Linked DNA regions of Homo sapiens: region 2 is linked to region 1. Evidence: promoter capture Hi-C in 16 types of primary human blood cells and fetal thymus (Javierre and others, 2016). All regions are on one chromosome and are shown on one strand. The core of a region is centred on a gene start or on the middle of the fragment in contact, and the rest is flanking DNA. Distances in the headings are between cores, read along the strand shown.

Region 1 (3,429 bases), core at 373-2,872:
TAAAAACTACCTTCCACTGGTCACAGTTCAGTGAGGATCTGAAATCTAGGTAAGTAATATTTGTACACAGGCAGTGAAACTAGAGCAATTGCTGAGTTCAAAAGCTAATAGCTAAGCATTGTTTCACAGACTGCTCTCAGTTCTGAAACAGCAGATATGTATTATCCATACCACTTATTATTTATTTATTTATTTATTTAGAGACCGAGTCTCGTTCTGTCACCCAGGCTGGAGTGCAGTGGCGCCATCTTGGGTCGCTGAAACCTCCGCCTCCCGGGTTCAAGCGATTCTCCTGCCTCAGCCTCCCGAGTAGCTGGGATTAGAGGCATGTGCCATCATGCCAGGCTAATTTTTGTATTTTTAGTAGAGACGTGGTTTCACCATGTTGATCAGGCTGGTCTCGAACTCCTGACCTCGTGATCCACCCGCCTCAGCCTCCCAAAATGCTGGGGATTACAGGCCTGAGCCATGGCGCCAGGCCTAATTTTTGCTTAAAAAAAAAAAAAATCACATTTGTATTCAAGGTGAGAAAGCTTCAGAATTATTAAGGACAAGGATTCTGACAGAAAGTTAAGTTCAGACCTGGTTACAAATTCAGACACCTTAATAAAGTAGGAGATAGTCTTCAGTATCTGAACAATAAATAGCTTTAAATGCAGGGCTTTTTGAGTAGAGGAGTGATCACTTGAATCTGGAGAGAGGGCGAGAAATGGGGAGGGATTGCTAACGGGCATTGGGGTTCCTTTTGGAGTGGTGAAACTTCTTGGAATCAGAGGTGACAGCTGCACACGATTGTGAATGTACTAAGTGACAGTGGATTGTACACTTTTTAAAAAATGGTTAATTTTATATGTGAATTTAACCTCAATAATTACTTTTTTTAAAAAAGAAAAAAAATAGAGGCTTTTGTGGCAGGGATGGACTTTGCTTGGTGAAGGCCCCTACTGTAACGGTGCCCAGACATCCACAGCGAGGTCAGTGAGGAGCACTCCCACCTCACACAAAGCCATATGAAAACTTAACAGATTTCCCTCAGCTAAATCCCCGTTTTCAACAACCGCCAATTAGCCAACATTTAACAACATACTGAACTCATTTCTGTATGGGAAAACAGCGAAATATTCATGAAAACATTTAGAAAGCAGCATCACCGACCACCTAGAAATCCCCTGCGCGCAATAGAGAACACCAGGGTGGAAATGGTAGAAGCCATTTTTGGTTAAGGTTTTTGTCCTGGGTGGAGGGTATTCGTGAGGATTCAGTCAGCCTCAAACATTACATTTAAACATAGGTGCCTAGCTACGATGATACATTTGCCAGTAGGGCAGCGTTGCACGGTGAAAGGCAAAAACCCCTCTAAGCCTCCTCCTGTGGCGACAAAGCTCTCGGCCAACGCTCACCGCCATACACATCCGCGGGAACGCTTCCTCCACCAGCCGAAGGCGGGGCCTCTGAGGGCACTCCCGCCACACAGCGCGAATTGAGCCTCGGGGCTTCCTGGGAATTGTAGTTTTAGTCACGGACACATCTTTTTTATTCGGGCCAGTATGCAATGAATCAGAAAACTACAACTCCCAAAGTGCCCCGGGGCGGCGAGGGGCCGCAACGGTGACGACTGTGGCAGAGAAGGCCCGGAGGGGCTCTGCGTTCTGTAGTGGCGCTGCTTGGGCCCTTGGCGGATTGTAAGCTGCTGGTTTTGCGGCTGGGAAGAGCGGCGAGAGGGTTCGGCATTTTTCGTCGGGATCCCCGCAAGGATGAGTGCTGCCAGAGAGTCTCACCCGCATGGGGTGAAGCGTTCAGCCTCCCCAGACGACGATGTAAATAATAATGGCGGAGTGGCTGAGGGTTGAGGCCTACTAAAGCCTGGAGTAGGCCGGGAAGGGTGGTTGGAGGAGGACGCGCCTGAGGTGGCCTGCAGCGGGAGAGCCCAGGGAAGAAACCAGAAGAATGAGTGGGAAATGCCTCCCTTAATCTTTATGAGGGTCAGAAGGTTTGAAGAGGCCCACACGCTGAGAGCCGGAGACCTGCGTAGGAAGGGGGATTGAGGAAGGAAATTCTGAGAGGGTCGAGGAGTGAAAGAGCTTAGTCAAGGGATTTCGTACGTGCGTTTTGGGGGGCCGATGAGAGTGCTTTCTCGGGCCTTTGTACTCAGTATAGAGACGGCAAGACTCTCCCTGTTTTGGGTTCTAAATGTTCCCGTGACAATGTCGAAATGTTCGTGCACGTTTGTACAGATTTTTCCTGCCTGGATGATTTTTACAATGTGCTGTTGAGAGTTAACTTTAGCTGCACTAGTAAGGGTAAACCGAGAACAGTATTGAGCCGAAAATTGTGCCACGGGTGTAATTTGGTACTGGCTCTGGTGGTGAGGTCTAAGACGTTGAGACCTAGAAGCCCATTTTGATGTCGGATATTAATACCTCGTTCTTCTTACCTCGTCTCCCCATCAAATGCCGTTCCCTTCCTCAGCCCTCACCTCATAGGTTTTAATAGCAAACGGTTTATCCCTTAAAGTAACCCGTTAAATATTTACTGCACTGCCGGGTGTTGGGAATTCGGAGAGAAATATGATGCTTATTTTAGGCCTTTTTGTATATTTGTCCTAGCTCCTAGCCCAGTGTCATGGAAACGGTAGGTAACCAGTAAACGTAAAACTAGGTCCTTCATACAATGGATAAGTGTCTTGGCAACGTTGATGGGGAAAATTGTTGGAGAGAGCGCGGAGAGGTCATCTTTAAGGAAGATGAAGGGATATCTAGGTTTTTTTTCGGTTTTGTTTAAAGTACTGTCAATTTCTGAATACATAGAGCTTTAAATTTTTCGATAGTGCATTTCAACGCTCTTCATAAAATTTTAAAAGCCCACTGAATACTACTTTGTAGCAAATGAGATAATGTTAAGACCTACCCCTCTGATGGGAGGTGGGGCGAGGACCGGAATATTAAGGATCTTTAAAGGAATCGACTTCAGCTCTGCAGAAAGATTAGCAATCAGTAAAGATTTGGGGATGAATGGGCACCTAGAGAAGTTTATTCTTGCTCTCTGTTATTTCTGCTACTGGATTTTAGATCTTGTTAATATGGTAATTCAGGTTTTGTCAGGAATTGATCCACACTTTTGAGTAACCTGGCTGCCACTTAAAAAGCTGTTACATTGTTTTCCTCCTGATCTTTAAATGTGACTTGATTGCTAGGATATCAGACACCTGTTTGGAAATATCTTTTAGCGTGACAGAAAACTCCAGGTGATATGAAATTTAACAAAGTTAAAGGGATTAAGTCATTAAGTTTACAGCTTCGGAAGAGGTCGGTTTAAACTAGACGACCTTGAAGACCTTTCCCAATCATATAAGCGTATCTTTAAGTACCTGGGTTTTGTTTTTGTTTTGAGACAGGTGAGACAGGGTCTCTGTCGCCCAGGCTGGAGTGC
Region 2 (3,429 bases), core at 430-2,929, 3.6 Mb after region 1:
CCATATCTCACCTATCCTAAAATAGTATTTTGAACCAGATGAAGATCAGTGAGCCACCAATGAAATTACATGAAGAATGGAAAAGTTTCCACTTAATTGTCAGAGTTTAGAACAATTCTTAAAAGGAAAAAATCTGTTTTCCTTTTTTTTTAGAGTCAAAGTCTTGCTCTGTCACCCAGGTTGAAGTGCAGTGGTGCGGTCACAGCTCACTACAACCTCAGATTCCTGGGCTCAAACAATCTCCAGCCTCAACCTCCTGAGCAGCTGGGACTACAGGCATGAGGGATCAGGCCCAACTTGTTTTTTAAAACACTGACACATGTGGGTTCTGAGAAAGGTTATCAAATAGGATTTTTGCTCTCATTAGCAAGATCAACATTTATACCTTTTAGGAAAGAAAATATACATAAGATATTTCCTCATTGTTAAAGATAAAGGCGTTACTACTGACTCACTGGGTTATAATAATGATTTAACCAGATTTTTAAAAAAATAGCTAACACTAAATGAGCCAGGCAGTATTCTGAGGGCTTTTATGTGCATTTGCGTGGAAACAGGTACTGTGATATTAAGACCACCAGCTGTTGGCTGGGCACGGTGGCTCACGCCTGTAATTCTAGCACTTTGGGAGGCCGAGGTGGGAAGATCACTTGAGGCTGGGAGTTTGAAACCAGCCTGGGAAACGTGGCAAAACCCTGTCTGTACTAAAAATACAAAAATTAACTGGCACAGTGGTGTATGCCTGTAATCCCAGCTACTCGGGAGGCTGAGGCAGGAGAATTGCATGAACCCGGGAAGCAGAGGCTGCAGTGAGCCAAGATCACATCACTGCACTCCAGCTTGGGGACAGAGTGAGACTCTGTCTCAAAAACAAAACAAAACAAAACAAACAACAACAACAACAACAACAACAAAAACACCAGCTGTTAAGCGGCAAAGCTAGAGCTTGAACCCAGGCTGATTCCAAGGCCTATGCCACTAGCTATTAAGTAATGAATAGCCTTTGTCACTAATACATGCAAAAGGGACCCAGCAGAGATTGGACCGTGACAGAGCCTCAGCAAATATTAAGGCCAATACAACGGAAAGACACTTCTGATTTCACTGCAATTGGCCTGCATTACCTGCAGCCTGGGATTATGAATTAGATTAATAAAGGACAGAAATGACAACCAAATGATCCAACCCAGAATGACGCTGAACAATATATAATTGCTTTTACAATTTGGAAAGATTATCTTTCCAAAATAATCCTTCAACTACTGTGTGTAACATTCCTAGTATTTATTGCCTATTTTCTCAGCCTCCATGTGTGTATGAACTCCCCCGCCCCACCCAATTTTAGAAACTCCTTTATTGTTTAGGAACATTTATTCTACTCAATGAAGTTTCAATTGCATTCATTCATGGTGGGCCAGCTCTGGGGGCTTGGATCAATCATGTGCTTTATGGGCATTCTGCTGGTGCCGTGGGGAGACGTGTCAGGATGTGGAGCCCAGAGTACTGGATGGGCCTCATGTCCTCTGTTCTCAGGGTTTATAAGCTTTGGTTTCCTCATCTATTCAGGGTGAAGGTATACTTTCCAGACATGTGACATTTTATTATTGGGTATCATCCTTGACCTCAAGGAGTTTATAATCTGCTTGTATTGAGGGATCCTCAAAGACACCCCCAAGTTTGGTAATTCACTAGAAGGTTTCATAGGACTCAGCATATAGTCATACTCACAGCTACAACTTATCGCATTGAAAGGATATAGAGCAAAATCAGCAAAGGGAAAAGGTGTGTCGGGTGAAGTCTGGAGGAAAGTAGGTACAAGCTTCCAAGAGGCCTCTCCCCATAGAGCTTGCACAGGATGTGCTTAATGTCTCCAGCGATGAACGTTTTCTGCCAGAGAAACTCATCTGAGCCTAGGAATGCAGGGTTTTTATGGGAGCCAGTTACATAGGCACATTGGCCTAGCCAAATTGCAGCCCTCCAGAAGAAAGGCAAGTTTTCAGCATAAACCACATTGTTTGTACAGACAGTTTAGGCATAGTACATGACCCTTATCAGATAGGGAATGGTGGGAACACACCGAAAATCCAAGGTTGCAAGCACAAGCCAGGGGCCAAACTTGTAACAGGCCTTTCTAAGGATAGCAGTCTCAGCCTGCTATGGTATCTCTTTTATGCACACTGCTAATAGAGACAAAACAAATCTTTTAAAAAGCTAAGAAATGGGCTGGGCGCGGTGGCTCACGCCTGTAATCCCAGCGCTTTGGGAGGCCGAGGCGGGCGGATCACGAGGTCAGGAGATTGAGACCATCCTGGCTAACACGGTGAAACCCCGTCTCTACTAAAAATACAAAAAATTAGCCGGGCGTGATGGCAGGTGCCTGTAGTCCCAGCTGCTCGGGAGGCTGAGGCAGGAGAACGGCATGAACCCGGGAGGCGGAGCTTGCAGTGAGCTGAGATTGCGCCACTGCACTCCAGCCTGGGCGACAGAGTGAGACTCCATCTCAAAAAAAAAAAAAAAAAAAAGCTAAGAAATGTGTGTACACATAAAATCTTGTGTATGACTGTTCATAGCAGCATTATTTATAATGGCCAAAGAGTGGGAACAACCTAGATAGCCATCGACTGATGAATAGATGAATAAAATGTGATATATTCATGCAATAGAATATTATTCAGCTATAAAAAGAAATGATACATACTACAACATGGGTGAACCTTGAAAATATTATGCTAAGTGTGAGGAGACAGTCACAAAAGACCACGAATTATATGATTTCATTTATATGAAATGTCCAGAATAGGCAAATCTATAGAGATAGAAGGTACATTAGTGGTTGACTAGGTCCCCAGAGGGTAGGGTACGAGGAGTGACTGCTAATGATATGGGATTTCTTTTCAGGGTGATGAAATATTTTAAAACTTAGATCGTGATGAAGGTTACAGAGTTCTGTGTATATACTAAAAACCACCTATTAAAAAAAAAAGAATGGCCAAGCGCGGTGGCTCTCGCCTGTAATCCCAGCACTTTGGGAGGCTGAGGCGGGTGGATCACTTGAGGTCAGGAGTTCGAGACCAGCCTGGTCAACATGGTGACAACCCCGTCACTACTAAAAATACAAAAATTAGCCAGGCATAATGGCGGATGCCTGTAATCCCAGCTACTTGGGAGGCCGAGGCAGGAGAATTGCTTGAACCTGGGAGGTGGAAGTTGCAGTGAGCCAAGATCATGCCCTTGCACTTCAGCCTAGGTGACATGGTGAGACTCTATCACACACAAAAAATACATAAATAAATAAATAATTAAAATTAAAAAATTTTTAAAAAGAAAAAGATATTTAAAAATAGCTACTTAAATGTCTGTGATGAGACAGGTTAAGTGCCAATTGAGTGGTACACACAGGCCAAGAAGGAGGCGTGCATGACCGTGTGG

What was found. The method cuts DNA at HindIII sites, captures the fragments that hold promoters and counts their contacts. A CHiCAGO score of 5 or more calls a contact.
Region 2: a fragment that was not itself captured here is called in contact with the fragment with the promoter of C11orf58 in region 1 in 4 of 17 cell types (total CD4 T cells, non-activated CD4 T cells, naive CD8 T cells and 1 more); the score reaches 10.6 in total CD4 T cells.

Annotation. Positions count from the first base shown.
Region 1 is chr11:16,737,025-16,740,453 of GRCh38, forward strand. C11orf58 (chromosome 11 open reading frame 58) reads left to right here and starts at 1,623. Exons shown (of 5, transcript NM_014267.6): 1 at 1,623-1,817. The coding sequence starts at 1,755. It also overlaps a transcript of SOX6 not described here. RefSeq lists an enhancer at 1,497-2,126. The HindIII fragment of the contact is 4,072 bases long and covers 532-3,429 here.
Region 2 is chr11:20,378,170-20,381,598 of GRCh38, forward strand. All of the region lies in intron 3 of HTATIP2 (HIV-1 Tat interactive protein 2), which reads left to right. Among named protein-coding and RNA genes, the nearest start is that of PRMT3, 7.8 kb to the right of the region's middle. The HindIII fragment of the contact is 276 bases long and covers 1,542-1,817 here.